2 separate regions of the Homo sapiens genome follow, and region 1 is linked to region 2. The links are contacts of gene promoters, found by promoter capture Hi-C in human tissues and cell types (Jung and others, 2019). All regions are on one chromosome and are shown on one strand. The core of a region is centred on a gene start or on the middle of the fragment in contact, and the rest is flanking DNA. Distances in the headings are between cores, read along the strand shown. Region 1 holds the start of ERBB3 (erb-b2 receptor tyrosine kinase 3). Region 2 overlaps CNPY2 (canopy FGF signaling regulator 2).

Region 1 (5,006 bases), core at 561-3,060, 230 kb after region 2:
GGGGAGGAGCTAGGCAGCTTGGGGAGCAGGGCAGGGGAAGGGAATCATAAAAATCCCTGCTGTACCCAGGAACCGGGAGCATAGGGAGGGGCAGTGTCACAGGCCCTCCTTTGGTAGAGAGCACTAGGGGTGGGATAGAGCCAGAATCTCCAGCCCCTCCTCAACCAGAGGCCTCCCCTCCAACATCCCCCACCCCCATCACAGCCAGGACAAAGGGGCTATAGAAGGACTGAGACAGGGCCGGATGCCCAGAGGCTGCAGGACCCAGATAAAGGGTAAAGAGACCCAACCATGCCTGCCTCCTGCCTCCCCAGGGAGGGTGGCCAGACTCTGGTACTCCTGGGTTTCTGGGTGAAGATTGCAGGAGTCTGGATGGGACAGTTATACAGTCACTCCACTGCTCCCTCCCACGCCAGTCCCCAGACCACCCCCCTCCACCAGCTGGGAGTGTTCACATCTAAAAATCCCAGGATCTAAATTTAGGCCCAGCAACTGTGAGGGAAGCACAGGTGGTTTCTTCCACTCCCACACTGGGGAAGGGGCCCTGGCTGTGCCAAACCCCAAGCTGAGATCTGAGGGGAGGGGAGGAGATCCACAGAACTTCAGTCCTCAGGTGTCCACGGTCCCAGAGACACCCCAAAGGGGTGGGCTCAGATAGCATGGGAGTCGGGGGAGGACTGGAGAAGAGCAATCCGGGGCTCTGTCTAGGGTCCTAGAGACAGTGTCAGACAATAAGCAAAATGGGGGCGGGAGGCACAAGCTGAGCCCAGGAAGGACTCCCCAAGGCAGGAGGCTTAGAAAGTAGCAGAGGTGCCCTCTTGATCCTCAGGTTGGGGAGAGAAAAGACCAGAGGCTGGACATCCTTGCCCTTACAGCTCCTGGCCCAGGGCCTTGTGTATAGTAGATGCTCAATAAATATGAGTTGTGTTGACCTGGGTCTTGACAAAGAGATGTTGCTTAAGCTCTGCTATACTGAGGAAAGGGGGCGCCAGCCTCTGTTGGGCCTCCTGCCTGATGTCACCTGAACTTGGCCCTCTGGTTAATCTCAGACCTCCCCAGGGCAGGCTCACTCACGGAAGAGGAGGTGCCGCTCCTGTTTTTCCAACACCAGAGAACAACAACCCCCTCCAACCTTCTGTAGCTCCGCCCTGTCGGCAAAACAACGAAACTAGGGGTAGCTGAAATCGGCGCGGGTGGGGGGCAGGGGGTTGGCGAGCAAACCGAGACCCTTCCCGCCAAGGCCCCCACCTCCAAGCACCTCCTGTTTACAGAATGAAGTTCCCTGCTCCCCTCCCTGCAGGGCCCCTCAGAAGTGTGAACTACTGTTTCGGCCTCAGCCTCTTCTGGGGAGACCAATTAGAGGGTCGGCGACGCTCTGGAGAAGGGTGGCGTGAGGGTCCCGGAATGCCGCCCTCGGCCGGACCACGCCGATAACCCGAGCCTGACCGCCCCTCTCCCAGGTGGTCCTGGCAAACCGGGGGCAGCACCCACAACCCCGCGCCGCCTGAGACCGTGCCCATACCCTCCGAGGCTGCGCGCACTGGGTTCCGGCTCCCAGGTGCCGAGCCCGCCGGTGCTCTCGCGCCACTTACCTGCCTGAGAGTTGCCCACCTCGGAGCCCCGGGCCAGGCTGAAAAGCAAGCCCAGCACCTGCAGAGCGTCGTTCGCCCTCATGACTCCGCAGAGGGTGAAGGGAGCCCAGCCAAGTCCGGCCCGGGGGCCCCTAGGCTAGGACATCGAGGCAAGAGCCACCTGAACCGCTGGCGAATTGGTGGCTGCTGCGGCGACGGCAGCGGAGGTTGCAAATTGCAATCGGAGCCGGAGCCGGAGTCCGGGGAGGGATGGCAGGGGAGGGGTGTGTGTGTGTGAGAGAGAGAGAGAGAGGGAGGGAGGAACGCAGAGGGAAGGGGGTGAGTCACGGCCGCGCCCCCTCCCGCGCGAGGCTGGAGTAGGGATTGCGGAGCCTCGGACCGCCTGCCCCGAGCGTGCCACGCCCCGCGGTCCCGCAACTTGGCGGAGCAGATCGAGGATGGGGCTCACCCTAATTTTTCTGCAGGAGATAGGCCAAGGGGAGGTCGAGATTCCGAAAGCCCCCAGATCCAGGGAAGGGTAATGAATGAGGGAGTGGAAAGCTCTCCAAAGCCCTGCCCCCTGAAAGTTGGCCTCGCCCATTAACCAAATCACTCAACTCCCCTAGCCGGTTGGTTCACTTGGTGGATTTTCTCTCAGAATGTGAATATTTCTCTCTGTGTGTTTTTGAGGGGGAGGGTGTTTTTTGCCTCACGTCCAGGCCACCTCAGTTTCTCCCAGACTCGAAACCCCATAATTCATCCACCCAGCCCAGGAACCCGAGCCACAGAGACCGCGTGAAATTGCACTGTCTCTGGCCGCTTCCTCCTCCAGACCCGGCGCCGGCCGGGCCTCTCCCGGGGATTTGGATGGGGGGCGGGGGTGGTTTCCAGCCTGGGAACAGACCCCGGAGCCCGCCTTTCCACTTCTACCCCGGGAGGGGCTCCCGCACCTGTCGCCGTCCCCTCTGCTGCCCCCCACGGCCGCCTGGGAGAACAGCTGCCTCCCCTTCCACACTGGAGTCTGGCCGCACCGTCCGGGCGGCCGCAGTTCCCGCCGCTCTTCTGGGGACCCAGATGGGCACACACCAAGGCGCTTACACCCTCCCAGGTGCCTTCCAAGTCCAGGCTCTCGCAGGAAAGGGGATGGGGCAGTGAAGTGGGACGCGGAGAGGACACTAGAGACTGCGTCCACGAATGGCGTGGACCTCTGGAACCTCCCCCACCAGCTGCCCGGACCTGGCCAGAGGCGGTCGGGCTCCCTGCGGGTTGCTGCCCAAAGCCCTGCTAGTCCCGGGACGGATCCGACCGGCGCCGCCTGGTGCCCATCCGTGGCAGTGGAGTCCCAGACGGCCTTGCATTTCAAATCCCTTAAACTGGTATTCGGGATCTCGCCCGGAGAGCCTAGTTGTTTTCTCCAGAACTTCAAGCCTGAAGACTTCGAAAACAGTTGAGCCTTGATAAAGAAAAATTTCACCCCTCACACCTAGCAAAGACTACCGGCTAACATTCCTTAAACATGCTCCCTATTGATATGCAACCTAGAGGGCCTGTTCTCTACTGGAGAATCTCCGCTTTGGGGAGGTTGGCTTTCTCCAGACCATGTGTATAGTAGTCATAATAATAATAGCAACAACAAAACCATTAACATATACAAACATTTCCATATATCATTTCATTTACAAAGTATGTCCTCAAACTTAGTGCCTTAGAGAATGTGTCACTTAACATAAAAATTATATGATTTAGGCAATATAACTCCCCATTTTACAGAACTAGAAGTGTGTGACCTCTCCAAGGTCATCCACCTGGTGACAGTGGTTGAGGTGATCAGGTGATTGGGAGGTGGGGCTCAGACTTTTACCTAGGGTTTCTTTCTCTCTTTTTTTTTCTTTTCTTTTTTTTTTTTTTTGAGACAGAGTTTCGCTCTTGTTGCCCAAGCTGGAATGATCCACCTGCTTCAGCCTGCCAAAGTGCTGGGATATCTTCCATCTTAAAAAACAAAACATTCGGCTGGGCGCGGTGGCTCATGCCTGTAATCCCAGCACTTTGGGAGGCCGAGGCGGGCAGATCACTTGAGGTCAGGAGTTCGAGACCAGCCTAGTCAACATAGTGAAACACCGTCTCTACTAAAAATACAAAAATTAGCTGGGCATGATGGTGGGCACCTGTAATCCCAGCTACTTAGGAGACTGAGGCAGGAGAATCGCTTGAACCCGGGAGGTGGAGGTTGCAGTGAGCTGAGATTGCATCACTGCACTCCAGCTTGGGCGACAGAGTGAGACGCCATCTCAAAACAAAAACAAAACATTGTTTTGTTTGACCTCATGGCCTTCTGGTCTGTTGCTTTTTTTTTTTTGACACGGAATCTTGTTCTGTTTCTGTCACCCAGGCTGGAGTGCAGTGGCCTGATCTCAGCTCACTACTGAGTTCAAGTGATTCTCCTGCCTCAGGCTTCCAAGTAGCTGGGGCTACAAGGCGTGCGCCACCAAGCCCGGCTAATTTTTTGTATTTTTAGTAGAGATGGGGTTTCACTGTGATGGCCAGACTAGTCTCTAATTCCTGACCTCAGGTGATCCACCCACCTCAGCCTCCCAAAGTGCTGGGATTACAGGTGTGAGCCACCACACCTGGCTTTTTTTCCTTTTTTTGAGACAGGATCTCCCTCTGTCACCCAGGCTGGAGTGCAGTGGTGCAATCATGGCTCACAGCAGCCTCAACTTCCCAGGCTCAGGTGATTCTCCCACTTCAGCCTCCCTAGTAACTGAGTCTACAGGTGGGCACCAAAATGTCTGGCTACTTTGTTTATTTGTTTGTTTGTTTTTGAGATGGAGTCTCGCTCTGTCACCCAGGCTGGAGTGCAATGGCGTGATCTCAGCTCACTGCAACCTCTGCCTCCTGGGTTCAAGGCATTCTCCTGAGTTTCGCTTTTGGTGCCCAGGCTGGAGTGCAATGGCTCGATCTTGGCTCACTGCAACCTCTGCCTCTTGGGTTCAAGCTATTCTCCTGCCTCAGCCTCCTGAGTAGTTGAGATTACAGGTGCCTGCCACAACACCTAGCTAATTTTTGTATTTTTAGTAGAGACGGGGTTTCACTGTGTTGACCAAGCTGGTCTTGAACTCCTGACCTTGGGCAATCCACCCACCTCGGCCTCCCAAAGTGCTGGGATTACAGGCATGAGCCACCACACCTGGCCTTACCATCTGGCCTTACCTAGGATTTCTTTATTATTTTTGTATGATATGGAGATGCGGGGGTGGGGGTGGGGGTCTGGCTATGTTGCCCAAGCTGGTCTTGAACTCCTGGCCTCTGCAATCCTTCCACCTCAGTTTACCCAAATTGTTAGGATTTCAGATGTGAACCATGCCTGGCCTTACTTAGGATTTCTTACTGTTCTACTGAGACTGGAGCTTCATGTGTTCAGATTCACACTCCCAT
Region 2 (4,950 bases), core at 2,249-4,748:
AGAATTGTACAATGAGGTGCCGGGCACGGTGGTTCATGCCTGTAGTCCCAGCACTTTGGGAGGCTGAGGCGGGTGGATTACCTGAAGTTGGGAGTTTGAGACCAGCCTGACCAACATGGAGAAACCCCGTCTCTACTAAAAATACAAAATTAGCTGGGCGTGGTGGCACATGCCTGTAATCCCAACTACTCGGGAAGCTGAGGCAGGAGAATCACTTGAACCCGGGAGGTGGAGCTTGCGGTGAGCCGAGATCGCGCCATTGCACTCCAGCCTGGGCAACAAGAGTGAAACTCCATCTCAAAAAAAAAAAGAAAAAAAAAAAGAATTGTACAATGAGGTAAAATAAAATCATATAGTTGAAACTACTGCCAAGTACAGTGGCTCATACCTGTAATCCCAGCACTCTTGGAGGCCAAGGCAGGCAGATCACTTGAGCACAGGAGTTCGAGACCAGCCTGGGCAACATGGCAAGACCCCGTCTCTACAAAAAAAATATAAAAAAGTAGCTGGGTGTGGTGGTGTGCATCTGTGTGAGGCTGAGATGGGAGGATCACCTAAGCCTGGGAGATCCAAGCTGTAGTGAGCCTCAGTCATCACACCACTGCACTCCAGCCTGGGCAACGGAGTGAGGCCTGTCTCAAAAAAAAAAAAAAAAAAAAAAAAAAGAAGTACTTTGAAACTATCAAGTAAACCATATTAATTTAAAACCAGGCCGGGCGCGGTGGCTCATGCCTGTAATCCCAGCACCTGGGGAGGCCAAGGTGGGCGGATCACTAGGTCAGGAGATCGAGACCATCCTGGCTAGCACGGTGAAACCCGTCTCTACTAAAAATACAAAAAATTAGCTGGGCGTGGTGGTGGGCGCCTGTAGTCCCAGCTACCCGGGAGGCTGAGGCAGGAGAATGGTGTGAACCCTGGAGGCGGAGCTTGCACTGAGCCAAGATAGTGCCACTGCGTCCGGCCTGGGCGAAAGAGTGAGACTCCGTCTCAAAAAAATAAATAAATAAATAAAATAAAATAAATGAAAACCACACTAGGCCAGGCACAGTGGCTCACGTCTGTAATCCCAGCACTTTGGGATGCCGAGGCAGGCAGATCACCTGAGGTCTGGAGTTTGAGACCAGCCCGACCAACACAGAGAAACCCCATCTCTACTAAAAATACAAAAGTTAGCTGGGTGTGGTGGTGCATGCCTGTAGTCCCAGCTACTCAGGAGGCTGAGGCAGGAGAATCACTTGAACCCAGGAGGCAGAGGTTGCAATAAGCCGAGATGGCGCCAATGCACTCCAGCCTGGGCAACAAGAGCAAAACCCCATCTCAAAAAACAAACAAACAAACAAAACTAATTAAAATCAATTAGGGAAAGCTTTTTAGAATAGGTTGTTGGAGCTAGATTTGGAAAGAAAAGTAAGGATATAAATTACTAATGTACAGAGGTAGAAGAGAGTGACCCAAGGCTGAGGACATTTCTAGGTGCCTTATGCCCGCTCAGAGGCCCACCTCACAGAGCTGCTGGAGGAGATATGTGACCGGATGAAGGAGTATGGGGAACAGATTGATCCTTCCACCCATCGCAAGAACTACGTACGTGTAGTGGGCCGGAATGGAGAATCCAGTGAACTGGACCTACAAGGCATCCGAATCGACTCAGATATTAGCGGCACCCTCAAGTTTGCGGTGAGCTATGGGAATCGGTAGCTGGTTCTTGGACATTAAGGGGTTGTTGGAGAACCAATTAGAAAGTTAGGCTGATATCCTTGTCCTCCTCTTTGGAAGTGAAGGCAAGAGGCCTCTTATTGCCCTGTGTCACCCATTTCTCCCTTGGGTTGGCAGTGTGAGAGCATTGTGGAGGAATACGAGGATGAACTCATTGAATTCTTTTCCCGAGAGGCTGACAATGTTAAAGACAAACTTTGCAGTAAGCGAACAGGTAAGCTGCCCCCACTTTATCTCCTGTTCTAGTAGCTCTGTGGAACCTGACATTCCCTAACTCACCCATACACCCCCATCCCAGAAACCTCTGGTATTAGGTCAAGAGCTGTCTTCCATTTCCCTTGGCTTAGGGACTTGGGGTGTTCCTCCACATTTTCTGTCAGCTTTCAGAATTTGTGTCCCCTTGACCCTGAGATACAGGTGAGAGGACAGTGGGGATGTTTTATCATTTATAAGCATATATTCTGCAGAATGGTGGTTGGTGTGTGTTTGTGTCAGCTTGGTCTGGGAAATTTTCTTGATACTGGCAGATATCAGTATGAGAATGGCATATTCCTTTAAATTGTTTGCCATTTGCAGATCTTTGTGACCATGCCCTGCACATATCGCATGATGAGCTATGAACCACTGGAGCAGCCCACACTGGCTTGATGGATCACCCCCAGGAGGGGAAAATGGTGGCAATGCCTTTTATATATTATGTTTTTACTGAAATTAACTGAAAAAATATGAAACCAAAAGTACAAACTGTGTTGTCTTTTCATGCCTGGAATTGCCCTTACATTAAGCTTGAAGATAAGGAGTTATATAGACAGGAAAGATAATGGAGGAGAAAGAAGAGTTTTGGGATTGATACAGGATAAAGGTAGGAGAGGCCTGAACCTTTAATTCTTCTACCTTCTGAGATTCCACTCCACTCATAAACTAGATAAGCTTTCAGTCAGTGCCCACTCAATACCACGTCTTTAGAGTCTAATTGTGGAGAATAGAGGAACCTCCATGAGGAAGCAGGGGAACATAGTGTATGGTAGTGTAGAATTCTAGAAATCCCTTGTGTTCATGGCTGTTGAAACATAAAGTAAGACAGGGCTTGGTCTTGAAGGAAATAACGGATATGCATTATTCTTCCTTCCCTGCCCATCCAGATGGAGGGACCAGCAAGAACAGAGACAGGAAGGGGAAAATGGATGTGACCAACTCAGCTGAAAAGTAAGGGCTTTATCGGATAGGGACAGACGAGGTAAGGAAGGTTGTTTAATGAGAGGCCTTGCTTGCCAGCCTAAGCTTTTAAATTTGATGCCAGTGGCAACAATAAAGTGTATCTATCACTAGCCATTGTCAATCTGGACTATAAGTCTGTCCACAATTCTGTGTGTAGAGATTCCAGACTGGGGCATAGGGATGAAAACCTAAAGGATACCTTCTTTTGGGAAATTCTTTTTTTCTTTTTTTTTCTGAGATGGAGTCCCGCTCTGTCGCCTAGGCTGGAGTACAGTGGCGCGATCTCGGCTCACTACAAGCTCTGCCTCCCAGGTTCACGCCATTATCCTGACTCAGCCTCCCGAGTAGCTGGGACTACAGGCGCCCGCCACCACACCGGCTAATTTTTTTTTTTTTTTTTTTGTGAGACAGAGTCTCGCTCTATCGCCCAGGCTGGAGTACAGTGGCGCGATCTCGGCTTACTGCAAGCTTCGCCTCCCGGGTTCACACCATTCTCCTGCCTCAGCCTCCCAAGTAGCTGGGACTATAGGCACCCGCCACCACGCCCGGCTAATTTTTTGTATTTTTAGTAGAGACGGGGTTTCACCATGTTAGCCAGGATGGTCTCGATCTCCTGACTTCGTGATCCGCCCGCCTTGGCCTCCCAAACTGCTGGGATTACAGGCGTGAGCCACCGCGCCCGGCCTGCACTGGCTAATTTTTTTGTATTTTTAGTAGAGGCAGGGTTTCACCGTGTTAGCCAGGATGGTCTCGATCTCCTGACCTCATGATCCGCCCGCCTTGGCCTCCCCAAATGCTGGGATTACTGGTGTGAGCCACCGCACCTGGCAGAAAATTCTTAAGCACTCTGAGCTTGAGGTATGGTTGTCTCAGGGTTTCAAATGGAATATCTCCGGTCCCAAGAACACCTCAAGGAGAGAAGACCTGAATAAACATTTCAAAGGTTTTAAAAATTACATCATTTTAGAATCTAAAGGAACCTTAGAGGTCGTCTGGTTCACCTCTGCCCATTTTATTGATGAAGAAGCTGAGGCCCAGAGAAGCCATAGAACTTTATGAAGTTCTGTATTTAATGGCAAAACTGGGTCTATAAGCTAACTTTCCCAAGTGCTGACCTGATCTAATATAGCTATAGAGTACCTTCTATTTTAAGTCTTTTTTCTCTAATAATACCTTGCACTAAGCCTGGCGCATAGAATGCATATATTCCACAAAGCTTTCTTGTACCAAAAATCCCTGTGAAATCTGACAAATTAACTAGAGCACAGAGCAAGCACTCTGATATTTGTTGTCAACTAATATCAGCCTGGTGTTAATTCCATCTTCTCCCATCATCCATAAGAAATGCTGTGTTCGCTCTAGTTTTCCAAACCAACTATTATAAAGCTTATTTTTTCTTCTATGATGCATATAAGTAATAATTACATTTTTTCATGTCCCTGAAAGTATACCCAAGGTGCTGTCCATTTCGTGCTTCGTGCCTAAAAATGCCTTTCTTTTCCATCAGAAAGCTTATCAGAAGTATAAATGAGAGTACTCTTCAAGCCAAATGCGGTGGCTCGTGCCCATAATCCCAACACTTTGGGAGGCCAAGGTGGAAGGATCATGATCACTCGAGTCCAGGAGTTTGAGACCAGCCTAGGCAATATAGTGAGACCCCATTGCTACAAAAAATACAAAAATTAGCCGGCATAATGGTGTGCACCTGTGGTTCCAGCGACTCTGGAGGCCAAGGTGGCAAGATCTCTCGAACCCAGGAGGCTGAGGCTGCACTGAGCTGTGATTGCACTACTGCACTCTAGCCTAGGCAACAGAGTGAGACCCTGTCTCAAATACAATAAAGAGAGTTCTCTTCTGGAAACTTAAAACTGTTTTAATTTAGAAAACAAATTATTCATAGTTTTAAATAAATAAATTTAATGTTAATCAGTAACAAGTTACTTGTGATGCACCTTTCTGGTTTGTCAAAGTACAGCTGTTAAGAACTCTCCAGCTGGAGAGACTTTGTCATTGGTA

What was found. Contacts are between HindIII fragments. The study calls those that stand out against the background at their distance.
Region 1: the fragment with the promoter of ERBB3 here is called in contact with a fragment that was not itself captured in region 2 in 2 of the 25 tissues and cell types used here (dorsolateral prefrontal cortex and heart right ventricle).

What each region holds. Positions count from the first base shown.
Region 1 is chr12:56,076,969-56,081,974 of GRCh38, reverse strand. It overlaps ERBB3 (erb-b2 receptor tyrosine kinase 3), which reads right to left and starts at 1,810. Exons shown (of 28, transcript NM_001982.4): 1 at 1,593-1,810. The coding sequence starts at 1,674. RefSeq lists enhancers at 1,163-2,153, 3,978-4,027. The HindIII fragment of the contact is 14,559 bases long and covers 1-5,006 here.
Region 2 is chr12:56,307,938-56,312,887 of GRCh38, reverse strand. CNPY2 (canopy FGF signaling regulator 2) reads left to right here. Exons shown (of 6, transcript NM_014255.7): 4 at 1,474-1,677; 5 at 1,834-1,930; 6 at 2,293-3,044. The coding sequence ends at 2,336. It overlaps CNPY2-AS1 (CNPY2 antisense RNA 1), which reads right to left and starts at 1,474. Exons shown (of 2, transcript XR_002957416.2): 1 at 389-1,474. The HindIII fragment of the contact is 3,127 bases long and covers 1,935-4,950 here.